Linked DNA regions of Homo sapiens: regions 1 and 3 are each linked to region 2. Evidence: promoter capture Hi-C in 16 types of primary human blood cells and fetal thymus (Javierre and others, 2016). All regions are on one chromosome and are shown on one strand. The core of a region is centred on a gene start or on the middle of the fragment in contact, and the rest is flanking DNA. Distances in the headings are between cores, read along the strand shown.

What was found. The method cuts DNA at HindIII sites, captures the fragments that hold promoters and counts their contacts. A CHiCAGO score of 5 or more calls a contact.
Region 1: a contact is called between a fragment that was not itself captured here and the fragment with the promoter of ME3 in region 2, in 1 of 17 cell types (M2 macrophages). The highest score is 7.3, in M2 macrophages.
Region 3: a fragment that was not itself captured here is called in contact with the fragment with the promoter of ME3 in region 2 in 2 of 17 cell types (megakaryocytes and endothelial precursors); the score reaches 8.3 in megakaryocytes.

What each region holds. Positions count from the first base shown.
Region 1 is chr11:86,742,729-86,747,323 of GRCh38, forward strand. No RefSeq gene overlaps it. Among named protein-coding and RNA genes, the nearest start is that of PRSS23, 56 kb to the right of the region's middle. The HindIII fragment of the contact is 5,887 bases long and covers 1-4,595 here.
Region 2 is chr11:86,671,251-86,675,658 of GRCh38, forward strand. It overlaps ME3 (malic enzyme 3), which reads right to left and starts at 1,366. Exons shown (of 15, transcript NM_001161586.3): 1 at 1,074-1,366; 2 at 512-708. The coding sequence starts at 694. RefSeq lists a silencer at 3,737-4,031. The HindIII fragment of the contact is 7,449 bases long and covers 1-2,249 here.
Region 3 is chr11:86,783,518-86,788,155 of GRCh38, forward strand. No RefSeq gene overlaps it. Among named protein-coding and RNA genes, the nearest start is that of PRSS23, 15 kb to the right of the region's middle. The HindIII fragment of the contact is 1,680 bases long and covers 1,717-3,396 here.

The DNA.
Region 1 (4,595 bases), core at 595-3,094, 72 kb after region 2:
CCAAAGGAATCTCTTCTCTAATTCTCTCTCCAAGCTGGTCCCTCTGACCCTTTCCTCTACTCTTGACCTGGCTGAGGGCCAAGACTGAAGGTACATGAGCCCTTTTCTTGAAAATCCACATCTTGGGGATATGTTGTCATGCTCATTTTTTTAATCTTGATATTGATCATATTTGGTATGTCAGGTGAACTAATGGCAAGAAGTAGCCCATTCCAAACATCTTATGTCCCATCGCTGAAACAACCCATACTGGGAATGGTGTCTCCCAGGATGCTCACCTGAGCTGTGTTCTGTTTGTAAGTAGGCAGAGGATGGAGACCTCTTGAAGACCTAATTGTTCCCAAGATATAGTCTATGCTCCCCATCACATAAACTTCTGAGCTCCTTGGTCAAATCCGAAATGAATTTTTCATACCAGAGTTTACCCAGAGGACTGTGGGGGTGGGGTTGTGACCTGGATGGAGGACCGGAAGCTGTCCCAGTTTACTCAGTGTAGCTCGGAAAGGACAGGTTTGAAGTGAATCCATGTTTCTTCACACAGATAATTTTTTCCTCTTCAGAGTACTGGTCCACTCTGACAGCCCGTTGCCACAGAGCACCACCCACAGAGCAGAGGATCCACACTCAGTATTACATAGCATCAGCAGAAACAGAGGCTGACCCCCTTGGTGAGGCCACTTCAGTTTCCTTGTTCTTGGGCCACCCATGAGCACCTCTGACAGTTTAAAAGATACTCTTACAAGCCAAAGGAGAGAAGTATAGCCCAGGATTCCCAGGATTCCCTGGGAGCCCAACAGTCAAACTCTGAGCCCTGCGTAGGCTGTGAAAACTGAGTCACAGGTTGGTGACTCACTGGCTTGAGACCACACCATGAGTCAGGCAAAAAAGGCTGGGGACAAACTTTTATAATCTAATTTCTCCAGACTGCCTCTAGAGAACCACCCTTGAAAAAGAGCAGGCTCTGGGGTAAATGGCTGGGAAGACTTGTTGAGACACCAAACCGCGCATCAGAGAATAAAGACATACCTTGGCTTGTTGCATGTCTCACCTCACTGACAGCTTGCGGTTGTGTGCAATAGATTCTAATGTTGTTTTGTAATTTCTAACCCCACTTACTGGTAACAAATTCATCAATCACTTCAGATCTGCTGGCTGCCCTTAGTGACTCAGTGTCATTCATTATCCCCTAGCAACTGCTTATGCTTCAGTGTTTATGAAACCCTGGTGCAGAAAGGCTGTCTGGGGACAGGGGAGGTGACATAGAGCAGTGATTAAGGTCACAGGCTTGGTTATTACACAAACCTGGATTTAAATTCCGGTGTCACATTTGATAGGATCTTAGGCAAGTCACTTGCTTCATTTTTTCCATTATTAAAACAGAAATAACAGTGCACTTGAAGAGTTGCATGGAGGAATAAATGAAATCCTGTTCATAAATAGCCTGGAATATAGGATATGCTTTATAATTGATTAAATATTATATTATTCATTAAGGATTTATTTCCATTAATGACTGCTCTTCCTCACAATTTTGCTAATTGTTTACAATGTTAAATAATCATTTATTGGGGTACAAAAAAATTAAGTTTTTGCCAATATACAAAAAAATCAAACAGCAGCAGAGATCTAAACTACCATCAGCACACATAGCCCTTAAGAGAAGGACTGGCCGGGTGCGGTGGCTCACGCCTGTAATCCCAGCACTTTGGGAGGCCGAGGTGGGTGGATCACGAGGTCAGGAGATTGAGACCATCCTGGCTAATATGGTGAAACCCCATCTCTACTAAAATACAAAAAAATTAACCGGGCGTGGTGGTGGGTGCCTGTAGTCCCAGCTACTTGGGAGGCTGAGGCAGGAGAATGGTGTGAACCTGGGAGGCGGAGCTTGCAGTGAGCTGAGACCGCGCCACTGCTCTCCAGCCTGGGCGACAGAGCAAGACTCCATCTCAAAGAAAAAAAAAAAAAGAAAGAGAAAGAAGGACTACAGTTGGTCCATTTTGCATCTTTGGGCATGACACAAAGTGCTCAAAAAGTGGTTATAAATAAATAAAAGGCTAAATGGTGAGTATTTCCACACTAAACAGTTTTGGAGTTTGTGTCATCCACATTTGAGCACTTTCATTCATCAAGTAAGAAACTTCAGCACATCTCTGCATTAGACATTATGTGAAACACAACCTAGCCATCCTCCACACACAAAACAGTATAAACACAAGCACACTCCAGGGTGTGGAGGGGTTTCAAGGCCACAAAGTGATACTTAGGCTTAGGATGGTCCTGAAAAACATTTTTGAGACAGAATTGGTATTTGAGTCTGTTTGGGCTGCTATAACAAAAACATCAGAAACTGGATGGCTTATGAACAACAGAAATTTATTCCTCACAGCTCCAGAGGTTGGGAAGTCCAAGATCAAGAAACCAGCAGATTTGGTGTCTGGTGAGGGCCTGTATTCTTGTTCATAGATGATGCCTCTTTCTGTGACCACACATGTGGAAGCAGTAAATGAGCTCCCTCAAGGCTCTTTCCTAAGGGTATGAGTCCCATTCATGAGGGCTCTGCCCTGTAACCTAGTCACTTCCCAAAGGCCCCGCCACCTGGCACCATCACTTGGTGAATAGGTTTCAACCTACAGATTTGAGGGGGACACAGCATTCAGAAAATAGCAATTCAGAACTGGGACTGGAGAGAATAGGCAGGATGAGGTGGGACATCAGGAAGCAGGAGAAGCTCTGGCAAGGGCTGGGAGAGACAGAAAATGCTGAACATATAGAGATCAGTGAGGTAGTGGCCCGGCCAGCCTGATCTGGGGCATTTGTGAGAGACGAGGGTGAATAGTAAAAGCCTTGGAGGGAGAACACCTCACCCACTGGAGACAGTCTCTTGTGGTCTTCACCAGCTGGACCTCCCAGGTGAGAGTAGCTTGCTCTTCCTTTCGCTGTGGGGTGGAGACATAGGATAAAGGAGGTTCTATTGACCACATGTTTTATGACATTGGCCCAGTCACTTCCCTTCTCTGGAGCTTGAATTCCCTCAGCCATGGGATAAGTGGGTTGACCTGATCTCAGGTTCTACACTTCAGTATGCAGATGAATCACTGGGCGAGTGAACTAAAACAGATCCCTGGGCTTGACTGCTAGATACAGAATCCTAGACTTGGGTTGCATTTTACAATGCCCCCTGCCACCCCAACATGTAATTCTAGGAGGTAGAATTCTAGCACAAAGTTTCACAAACTTTTCCAATACGAGGATCAATTTTTTAAGTCAAAAAATTTCCAAAACCACCTCTATGTAAATGTAGATTAATTCTTATATTGGTTGTTTGAGAAAACACATAACCAAAAAAAAAAAAAAAGAGAGAAAACACATAACAGTTTAAAACGATCATGAATGCGATAACACTTTGTGTTGCGCTTATAGTTTATTAATCTCAGCAGGGGCACATATGTTTGAAAAATAGTATTCTATGCATGTGGAGTGGGCAGGATGTGCTATTTCTTCATAGTCTAGGTGATGTTTGGCATCCTCTGCATTGGAGTATTGTAATCCACAGACTCTGGGTATGTAGCTCACAATTTGGAAACACTGACCTAAATTAACTGTTAGTTTCCACCTCAAAACTAACCTTTGATTCTAATTAGAGGCCTATGACTAGTTGGCTAAGCACTGGTTCTTTTGCCTGTGTTTGAAATCTAATAAAAAAAAAATCTTGGCTGAGCAAGAACTGCTGCTTCAGGTAATATTGCCCCACCTCCCAAAAATAGTGGCACTGCTCCTTTCCCCACAGATTCATTGTCATCCCCTGATTTGCAAGAGGGCTGAGGAATCCACTAGGACAGGAAAAGGACTTAAATCTTTTTACCAGGGGGCTTAAATACAATGCATACGAACTGTCACTTAAGAGCCAGTTTTGCCAAAAGGGGCTATGAATTCTCCTGTAATTGAATCATCCATCAGAGAAACAGGGTCCAGCAGGCAGCCAGACCCAGTACAGGCCTGGAGGGGATCTGGAGTGTTTCCAGATCCACTCTGTTAGCTGATATTAGACCATGCCTGTCCCAGTCATGATGCACAGCTGTAAAAGGAATATATGTATGAACTTAAATAGGTCTTTTAGAAAACGTATTAACTCTGTGGCTGAAGCTATGAACCCCTCACTGAGCGTGACATGTAAGAAACTCACTCTCTTCATTAGAGTGGTAGCAGCATGCAGCCTCAGGCAGCAGCTGCTACACCTGGCAAGAAACCACCAGCACTGCTTCTTGGACACCTGAAAGCATCCCTGGGGCTTCTCAGAAATGTTTGGGATGAGTTTCTGTGAAAGACCAGTCTCCTACATTGACATAGGTGGAGGCTCAGTGCCCTAAAGATTCGAGTACTACGCTTAAATGTGATTGCCTTTGCAATGACTGAATTTTCAGACTATAGAAATGGAAAGTTGGAGACAATGTTCATCAGATAGATATTTATTGGCTGTTGCTTAGTTCTTTAGGTTTCTTTTACTGTAATGGTTGTTCAGTATAATGGTAACTGGTCTCAAAAACAAAAACCTGGTTCTCACCCAGCCATTAAGGCACCCACAACTGCAATCTCAG
Region 2 (4,408 bases), core at 116-2,615:
GCTCTCAAATTAATCTTTTTCTCAGAATAATAATCATAACCTTATTTATTCTCCCACTGGGTACCAGGCACTGTTCTAACGTACCCCCATTTTCTACCCGCATTTTCTCTTTAGATCTCACGACATTCCTAAGACAATTATATCTCTTTTACAGATAAGGAAACCTAGGCTCATGTAGGTTAAATGAACTGCCCAAGACCAATAAAATTAGTAAGCATCAAGGGGAGAGCTGACCGCAGGTCAGACTGACCGCGAGGATCTAAACCTGGTCTGTGTTGTTACTGCAGAAGAAATTAGGCTCCCTGCATTACTGGTCGCCTCTCTCCACGCATAAAAGGGAGAGGAGGGACAAGAAAGCCAAACCAAGTCACAACAAGCCCCTGCAAGGCAAAAACAGAAAAACCGCTGGAAGGGCGCCCGGGAGGATCCTTTCTGGGTCCAGGGGGCGGGGCGCAATTTTCCGGCAGCCACGGGATCGCAACGCGGGCCGTCCTGCCCTCTGGCCCATTACCTTGTTGAGATGAGGGTTCCTGGTGACATCGTATCCGCGCTTCTTCAGGGGCACAGGGCGCGCCGGGCCAGGCTTGGAGTGGCAGCCTTGGGCGGGCGCGGTGGGTGTCCAGCGCGGGAGGGCGCCGCAGGCCCGGCCCGGCCAGGGAGCCAGCCGCGTGCCTGTCCCCAGCGCGGCACCCATGGTCCTTGGCAGACCTGGCACGGGAGAGAAAGCAAGGTCAGGGCCTCCTTCCAGCCAGCCAGGACCCACGCGCGCTGCGGGGCACCGGGCCTGATCCGGGGACGCGCCCTCTGGGAGAGGGCAGGTGCTCCCAAAGGGTTAAATGTTCCAGCCCCCGCCACTCCTCGGCTGCCACCTGCTCGGCTCCGCGCGGGGCGCCAGGCCTAGCCAAGAGCCAGGCAAAGCGAAACCAAGCCCTGGAAGCAGATCCGGTGCGGGTGACAGCCGGCGCCACCCCTGCCCCCATCCCTGTGAAAAAGAGGCGACTGCGCGGCGAGGGGTCCCCGTACCCCTAATCCCGCGTGGTGGCTTGCCTCGGTCCTCTCCTTCCCTGGCCCACCTGCGCTGCTCGGGGAGCTGAGGTCTACGCGGTCCCGCTGCGGAGCAGGCGGGGTGAGGAGCTGCGGTCTGTGAGTCCTCTCCCGCCAATGGGTGGACCGCGCTGGCGGCCGCGAGCTCGCGGAGCTGGTGAGTTCCTCAAAGAGCGGTCCCACAACCTTTGTTCTCAGTGCCTGGCTTCCCCTGAGGACGCGCGTGGGGCGCCTCAGCACTGCGTGCACGTGGTTTTCCCCAGTGACAAGAAGCAGCTCAGAATGCCCGCCTGAGACTCTCCATCTTGGCAAGACTAAATGCACAGAGGGGGATTTGCGTTTGGGGGTCAGCATATCCTCGCACTCTCCCAACATTCGGGGAAGGGCGTGCCTTCAGGATTTGGAGTAGAAATCCTCAGGCATTCGGTGCTCAGTGTTGCCTTGTGCTGTCCAATATAATAGCCATTCGCCACGTGTGGCTATATAAACGTAAATAAATTAGTCTATATAGAATAAAATTTAACATCCAGTTCTGCAGTCACGCTAGCCACATTTCCAGTTCAAGAGCCACTTGTATGCAGATACAGAACATTTCTGTTTTTGCGGATACTTCTATTAAGCATCATTGACATAGGAGCCACAGTTACTAAGAGGACTTCTGAGGACCCCATGGAGTTTGCCATGGGTTATTGGGGCCAGACAGGGATCTTGGGGTCCATCTAGCCCCAAACTTAATTTTATACTTTCTCCACACAGTAGTCAGGAGATTCCTTTTAAAGCAAACACTTTGTTGTGTGTGGAATAAAATCCAAACTTTCAGGGCCTACAAGATTTCCCATAAACTGGCTCTTGCCAGCCTCTTCAGACTTATCCTACTCTACTCTTTCCTTCTCACTGATCTCTGGCCATACTTGATCCTTCCTGTGTCTTCACCCCACTTGGTTCCCTCCCACTGCAGGGCCTTTGCACTTGCTATTGCCTCTCCTTGGAAGGCTCATACTCCAGCCTTGCAAACCACTACTTCATTCCCACCTCTCAGTTCTCCACTAAGTTGTCAACTCGAAGGCCTTTCCTCTATCCCATTCAATGTCAGCCTGCACTAGGAACTATAGAGTGAAGGGGTTTTTCTCTTTAGAGAACTTAACACAGTCAGTAGCGCGCTTGTTTTTCTGATTGTTTACTGACTATCTCCTGTCTAGAATGTAAGCTTCATGAAGAGAGGCTCTTTGCCTGTGAACCTGTGTGTCCTCACTGCCTAGCTCACTGCCTGGTATGTAGTTGCACAATAAATAGTTGTTAGGTGAAGGGAAGTGGCAGCCACTTTCATAAGGATCGTGAACCCTTAGACTTACTGACAGACAGTTGGCACGGTCCTCTGCTGACACCCCTTCAAAGCTCCCGGTGCCAGCATTAGCCCCGTTGTAAGTACCAAGCAGACATCATGGCCCATAATGTGCTAAGGGGTGCTCCTGCCTGAGTTCAGGATTCCCTCATCCCTTCAGGAATAATCGTCTCCTCCTGCAGTCTCTCTCCTCCCTGTGTAATATCTAATTTTCAACTTGAATGATCTACGTAAAATAGTTATTTCCAAAACAGAATTACAATTACCTGGTAGGAAATAAGGATGGGGCAAAAATACAGCTTTCCAGGCCCCATCCATGAAGATTCTCATCCAGTAGGGTTTACATCCCTGAAGTCAGGTTTACTCTTGGACTGCATATTTACATAAGCTTATAAATGATCTTTTTTTCTGCCTTAAACCAGTTTGTGTCAGATGTGTGATTGTGTGCAACCAATAGTATTAACTAAATCCTTTCAACACTATTTTTATATTGGCACTTCTTCCCACCAGTCAACATCTTTGGGGGGCAGAGATCATGTGTGTTTCCATCTTTGGTATCTAGTGCATGCAAATATTTGGAAATTGATTGTTGAACCAGTTTGCCCTTGCTGAATACAATGACCTTTCCCTCCCCTGGAGGATATCTAATAGGTAACTTTAGTCATTTGAAACCAGGATGTAAACAACAAAGGTTTCCAAACAAGCGAACATAATTTTTATAGCATCAATTCACTAAAGCTTGTACAGTTTACATATAAAAGTCTCTTACATGTCCTCACCTGTGGCCTATATTCTCTTAACCCAGGCATAATTCTACAATGTTGTTTTGTGTGTGTGTTTGTTCTTTGGTGACAGGAAAGAAAAGGTTAAAGGCAGGTCCACCAGGAGCAGTGACAGAAGGCAGTAGCAAGAGGAGGTGGTGGCTTCTCAGTTCCATACAGTTGTCCAGGGACCCAGGTTTTCTCTTTTGCTGCCAGGCTCTTCTGTAGCTGTTGCCCGCCTCTACACAGCGCTAACACCATGTTAGCATCCCAGCCGTGGAAAGCGGGAACAAGGAAACAGAGGGAAAGCAAATCGATTTGTTTTTTTAATTGGGACAGGGTCTCACTGTGTTGTTTAGGCTGTTCTTGAACTCCTGGGCTCAAGCAATCCTCCTGCCTCGGCCTCCCAAAGTGCTGGGATTACAGGCGTGAACCTCTATGCCCAGCCAAAGCAAATCTGTTCTGTGGAAGTGACATGAAAGTTGTATATATTACTTCTACTCACATTCCATTGGTAAAAACTAAGTCACACATTCATATCAAGCTACAGGGAGGGCTGGAAAATATTGTTTGTAGTAGGAAAGGCATGTATGTGCTCTACTGAAGTTCAGTGGGGAGTCTATTACTAAAAGGAAGAAGGGGAGAATGGTTCCTAGGGACCACTAACTAGAAGTCTAAATATAATACTCATTTTCTGTTGAAGTGCTTAGCCCGTAGTGGGTGATCAGAAACTGTGAGCTGTTTTTATTGGCACGTGTGGTTTCCATTTCTGCTTTTGTGGCAACTTCCTTACTTTTAGAGCTGAATATAGGATTTCAGAGACCAGGTTCAGAACCATGGAAACATTACAGATCTTCTTCCAACTCCATACAACTCTGACTTCCTTAGCCAGCCAGGAAGTTGGCTTGTGATCTGGTGATCTGGTCCAGCACTATATAGAACTAATGGGTCTCCATAATTTGTCTTGGCCCCTCTCCTTTCATATCCCATTTACTGACTTCTGCCATCATTGTAATGATGCTTCTTGGGATGGCAGAGAAGGAATCTCATTCCATCTCCTCCAGCCAACAGTTCCATATTCCAGGTATAGTTAATACTTTTGCTTTTCCATTTTGATTACAGAGATTTAAATATCTACCTGTTTCCCTACTAGATTGTGAATTCCTTGATGACTACAACCACCATTTATAATTCTTTGCATCTCTATACCTGGGAAAGTGCCTGGCACTTAGAATTAACTCAGTTTCTTGAATTAAATATA
Region 3 (4,638 bases), core at 1,307-3,806, 110 kb after region 2:
CACTGAAATCAGCCTGGCTCTTCCAAGCTGCATCTGTATTTTCCCTCTTGTATTAAAAGTCCTCCAGAGCCTAGCTGTTTATCAAGTATAGATATAGAAAGGGGCATAACAGGGAGTCACTTGGGCACTGGACTTTGAATAGTTTCTCTAGTTTTCTAATGTTAAATCACTAACAGTCCATCCAACTTATAAAACTATTTGTGTTGTATATTCAACAGAGGGATGGAAATTTTTTTTTTGTTTACTGGGTTTGGCTCCTGAATTCTTTCCCTAGAATTTATTTACTGTGGGAAAAGGGTTGAAAACATTTCAAAATAACTTTGGAAAGGAGTTTTCTGGGCCCTGTACAGATTTAAGATGAATAAAATGAGTAAACTTTTTGCCTAACTTTTTGTCTCCCAGCCAATCAGTAATAAGTCTCCATCTGGTGGTCCTATGGAGAGCTCAAGTATAGTTCATGCCCAGAAACGTAACATGGGGAACTTTTCACATTACACTATTGATTTATTCAATCATTCATTTATTCAACAAATTGTTATCGAGCATGAACTATGTGTCAGGCACTATGGTAGGTGCAGATCACCAAATGCAAACTCTCTTCCCTGGTCTCTCCTTTTTATATCTTGGTCGGGGCACTCAGATAAATGAAGGAAATACAGCTCTCTAAAATCATCATCCTTCCCGTCCACCTGTCCCCTGCCTTCCCAGTGACCAGTTAGGAAGTTGCATAATTGAGAAAAAAAGTGATTCCCTCCAAACCTGGGTCTTCTATCAGTGTTGTTGTTAACATCTGTGTTTCTTCAGGATGATTTTTATGAGTCTAATGAGGGCCAGGAGGCTTCCTGGGCTTCACAAATCCAGCTGACATTGCAGCAAGCCTGCAGCCTCCCGGGAACTGTTGATTACAAGACCTGTTGATTGTATTGTATTGGGACAACCAGCTCTGGCTAAACCAGTACACTCATCTGCTTTGCAGTATCAAAAATCAAGTGTTCCACCCAGATTCTTTTCTAATTTTCAAACTTTTGATCTCATTCCAAATTACATGTTACAGTAGTTTGCATCAGCAGGATGACAGTCACTCTGGAAAATTGAAGGAGTGGCTCTGCTATATGTTTAAAAATATGCACACAGCAGCGTGGATTTTGGTAACAACTTGATTCAAGCTGCATTTGTGCCTTTAACACTTTTAATTATTTTTTTTTTGAAATGGAGTCTCTCTCTTTTGCCTAGGCTAGAGTACAGTGGCACAATCTTGGCTCACTGCAACCTCTGCCTCCCAGGTTCAAGCGATTCTCCTGCCTCAGCCTCCCAAGTAGCTGGGATTACAGACAGGCACGACCACATCCAGCTAATTTTTGTACTTTAGCAGAGATGGGGTTTCACCACGTTGGCCAGGCTCGTCTCGAACTCCTGACCTCAGGTGATCTGCCTGCCTCAGGCTCCCAAAGTGCTGGGATTACAGGCATGAGCCAAACACTTTTCAAGTAGACATTTTCTTTTTAATAAAACAGAGCTCAAATTTAACAGTCTTATGATGGGATTCAACATTTTTCCTTCATGCAGCTCAGGTGTGAGTACCTGGCTTTAAAGCAAATCCAGTATGTGAAAATGGGGATGCGTACCCATCAGTACTGGGGCAAGAGATTCACTTCACAGAATGAATGCTGCTTTTCTTTACCGGAGGAATTTTCATAGTATTCTCTGGAAGGCATAAGCTTTCCTCATACCCATAAACACTTAGTAAACTTTTAATTTAGGTACACTCTTTAGATAAGTGCTGTATAAAGAGAAGATTCAGATCAGGCAGATGGTGCATGTTATTTTTCAAGCAATTACCTTATTTCAAATTAAATCCAAATGATTTTTCAACATCTGGTTGGCATTCAGTGCCTTGCCTAGATTGTTCTATTTTAAACATAATGGAGTCTCACTATGCTGCAGAAGCTGCAAACTGCTGGGCTCAAATAATTCTCCCAACTTGGCCTCCTGAGTAGCTGGGACTACAGGTATGCATCACCGTGCCCTGCCTAGATTGTTTTGATGTAAAGCTGCTTCAAGGCTTAGGTTAATAGTTACTCCTTTGTCACCCCTCAGATAATCTGTACCCTTTTCCCAGACTTGAAATCTTTTTAGCATTTATGTAGGTTTGTACTCTCCAGTTTGAATACGGCCCTAGAAATAGTTTTGGTTTTATTCATTTTATGAGGTTAGCCATGTGCCAGGCCCTTAAGAAATGCCTTAAAAAATATTGCAGTTGATGGAATGAAAAGAAGCTGTCACTGTTCCGAATCATGTCTTTTGGTTAGGAAGAATTCATCAGAATGAGATCTGATCTTGGTCATAGGGCAGCATTTTATAGTGGCCTATACTTAGGCTGTCTTCATGGGCAAATTATTAAAATAAGAATAAGAAAGACCAGATATGAGTCCAAGCCAATCAGCAATGATCTCTCGTAGCCAGAGAGATTACTTCAGGAATGTGCAGGTGACCCTGCCTGGCCAATGGGAATCGGGGTCAGGATAGTTGTTGGAACTGATGAGGGAGACAAACTCTCTTTTCTGCTGGTTTTAATTCTGGGAAAATATAAGTTAAAAGCATCTGCAGATTACCTTAAAGTGAAACCAGCACAGAAGAAAAACTGAGTGGTAGAGAAGCCCAAATCCTGATGATGTTTCTTGAGCCCTGTAGTTCAACAGTTCCAAGGCTAGACCTATTTTGGGGACTTTTCAATTAAGTTAATAGGTAAATTTACTTTTTTTTTTTTTTTTTTTTTTTTTTTTTGATGGAGTCTCCCTCTGTCGCCCAGGCTGGAGTGCAAAGGTGCAATCTCAACTCACTGCAATCTCCACCTCCTGGGTTCAAGCAATTCTCCTGCCTCAGCTTCCCCTAGTAGCTGGGATTACAGACATGCACCACCACGCCTGGCTAATTTTTGTATTTTTAGTAGAGATGGAGTTTCAACATGTTGGCTAGGCTGGTCTCAAACTCCTGACCTCAAAATATCTGCCCGCCTTGGCCTCCCAAAATGCTGGGATTACAGGCGTGAGCCACTGTGCCCAGCCTAATTTACTTCTCTATTTAGGCAAGTCAAGTTTGGGTGACTTTTTTTTTATCACTTCCTAACGAAAGGTCCCTGATTCCCCCATTTCCCCAACTCTTTTTTATATAAATTACCAAGACCTAAGGTTTCTCCCTCCAGAATATCACATATCCATTATGTCATCTCCATCTCAATGTCCATAATCTAGTTTGGGTTCTCATGAACTCTTGCTTGAATGTGCAAACTCTTAGTTTGTCTCTCAGCCTTCACTTTCTCCCCTTGCACTTACCTTTCCAGAAGCTGCCCGATTAATCCTTATAAAGCACAGATATTATGAAGGCACACTGCCCAAAAGCTTTTGCTGACTTCCATTGCCTACTGAATAAAGTTCAAATTCCTGAGTATGATATTTCAGCCCTTCTATATTCTACCTGCAATCTTTACCTTTCCAACTTTTATATTTTGCTGCATCTCTCATGTAATTTATACTCAAGGATTATGCTTTCCAGTTGGGTATTCAAATTTTTGAAGCAAGTTTGATATACGTGAACAGATGAACTTGCTATTTCCATATCCAAATCTGACAGCTTCTAATTCAAGTGACACCTTGTCCATGAAGCCTTCCCTAACACCACAGCTGAAAACTGTCTCCACCCTCTGAGCAGTTACAGCCCTTTGTCCCTTCATTACTGAGCTATTACTTCCTCTTATCTTCCTACGTTTTATTATAGCTGCTTTATCTAGTCTGCTTTCTAGAATTTTTAACTATTAGATAGTCACTGTCCTTTCAGCAGGGTCTGTTTCAGATTTAATTTTTTGTGTACCCCATCACCTCCTCCCATGGTAATATTCCATACATGTTTACTGAATTGGTATAAATGAAGGGATGAGAAAGGTGTATAATAGCTTCTTAGAAAACTTACTTTTTGATGACTACTTTAACTTATAAATAACCAATCTTATTGACCTATCCTAATTTATATATAGATTTCCTGTTGAAGTTCATCCGGACGCTTGAAAATTGGCTTTCTAAATACTAAATTTCATACTTTCCCCCTATTTTACACTATTAATCTGCCAGCACAAAAGTAAAATTTAGGTAAATCTTTGACAAAACTCATACAAATTCTAAACTATCATCTTGATGAGATTAAGTACCACAGATGAGTTTAATTGAAAGTGTCTCATGATCAACAGCTCTCTTTGAATCATGTTAATAGAAGCAATAACATGCATTTAAGTAGTGTGTTACACTTTACAAAGTGTTTCTACAGACATGACTTCATTCCTGTTTCACAACAACCTGGTGAGATCAGTAGGGTGGGAATTGTTGGCCCTGTTTTACCAATAAGGAAAAGGTAAGGTCTAAAAGAGGCTACCCAATTAGCAAGTTTCCATAACTAAGTAGATGACAGAACTAGGACTAAAACCCAAGATCTCTGAACCCTAGTCCAGACCTCTTCCAATTATTCCACACCACCTACCTTAGACTAACTGAGGTAACTTCATTCCCTTTCCAGTAATAGGTTTAGCAAAGGATGTATTATGACTATTGAATTCCAGCCATTGCAATACGAGGACAGGTGTGGGGAGTG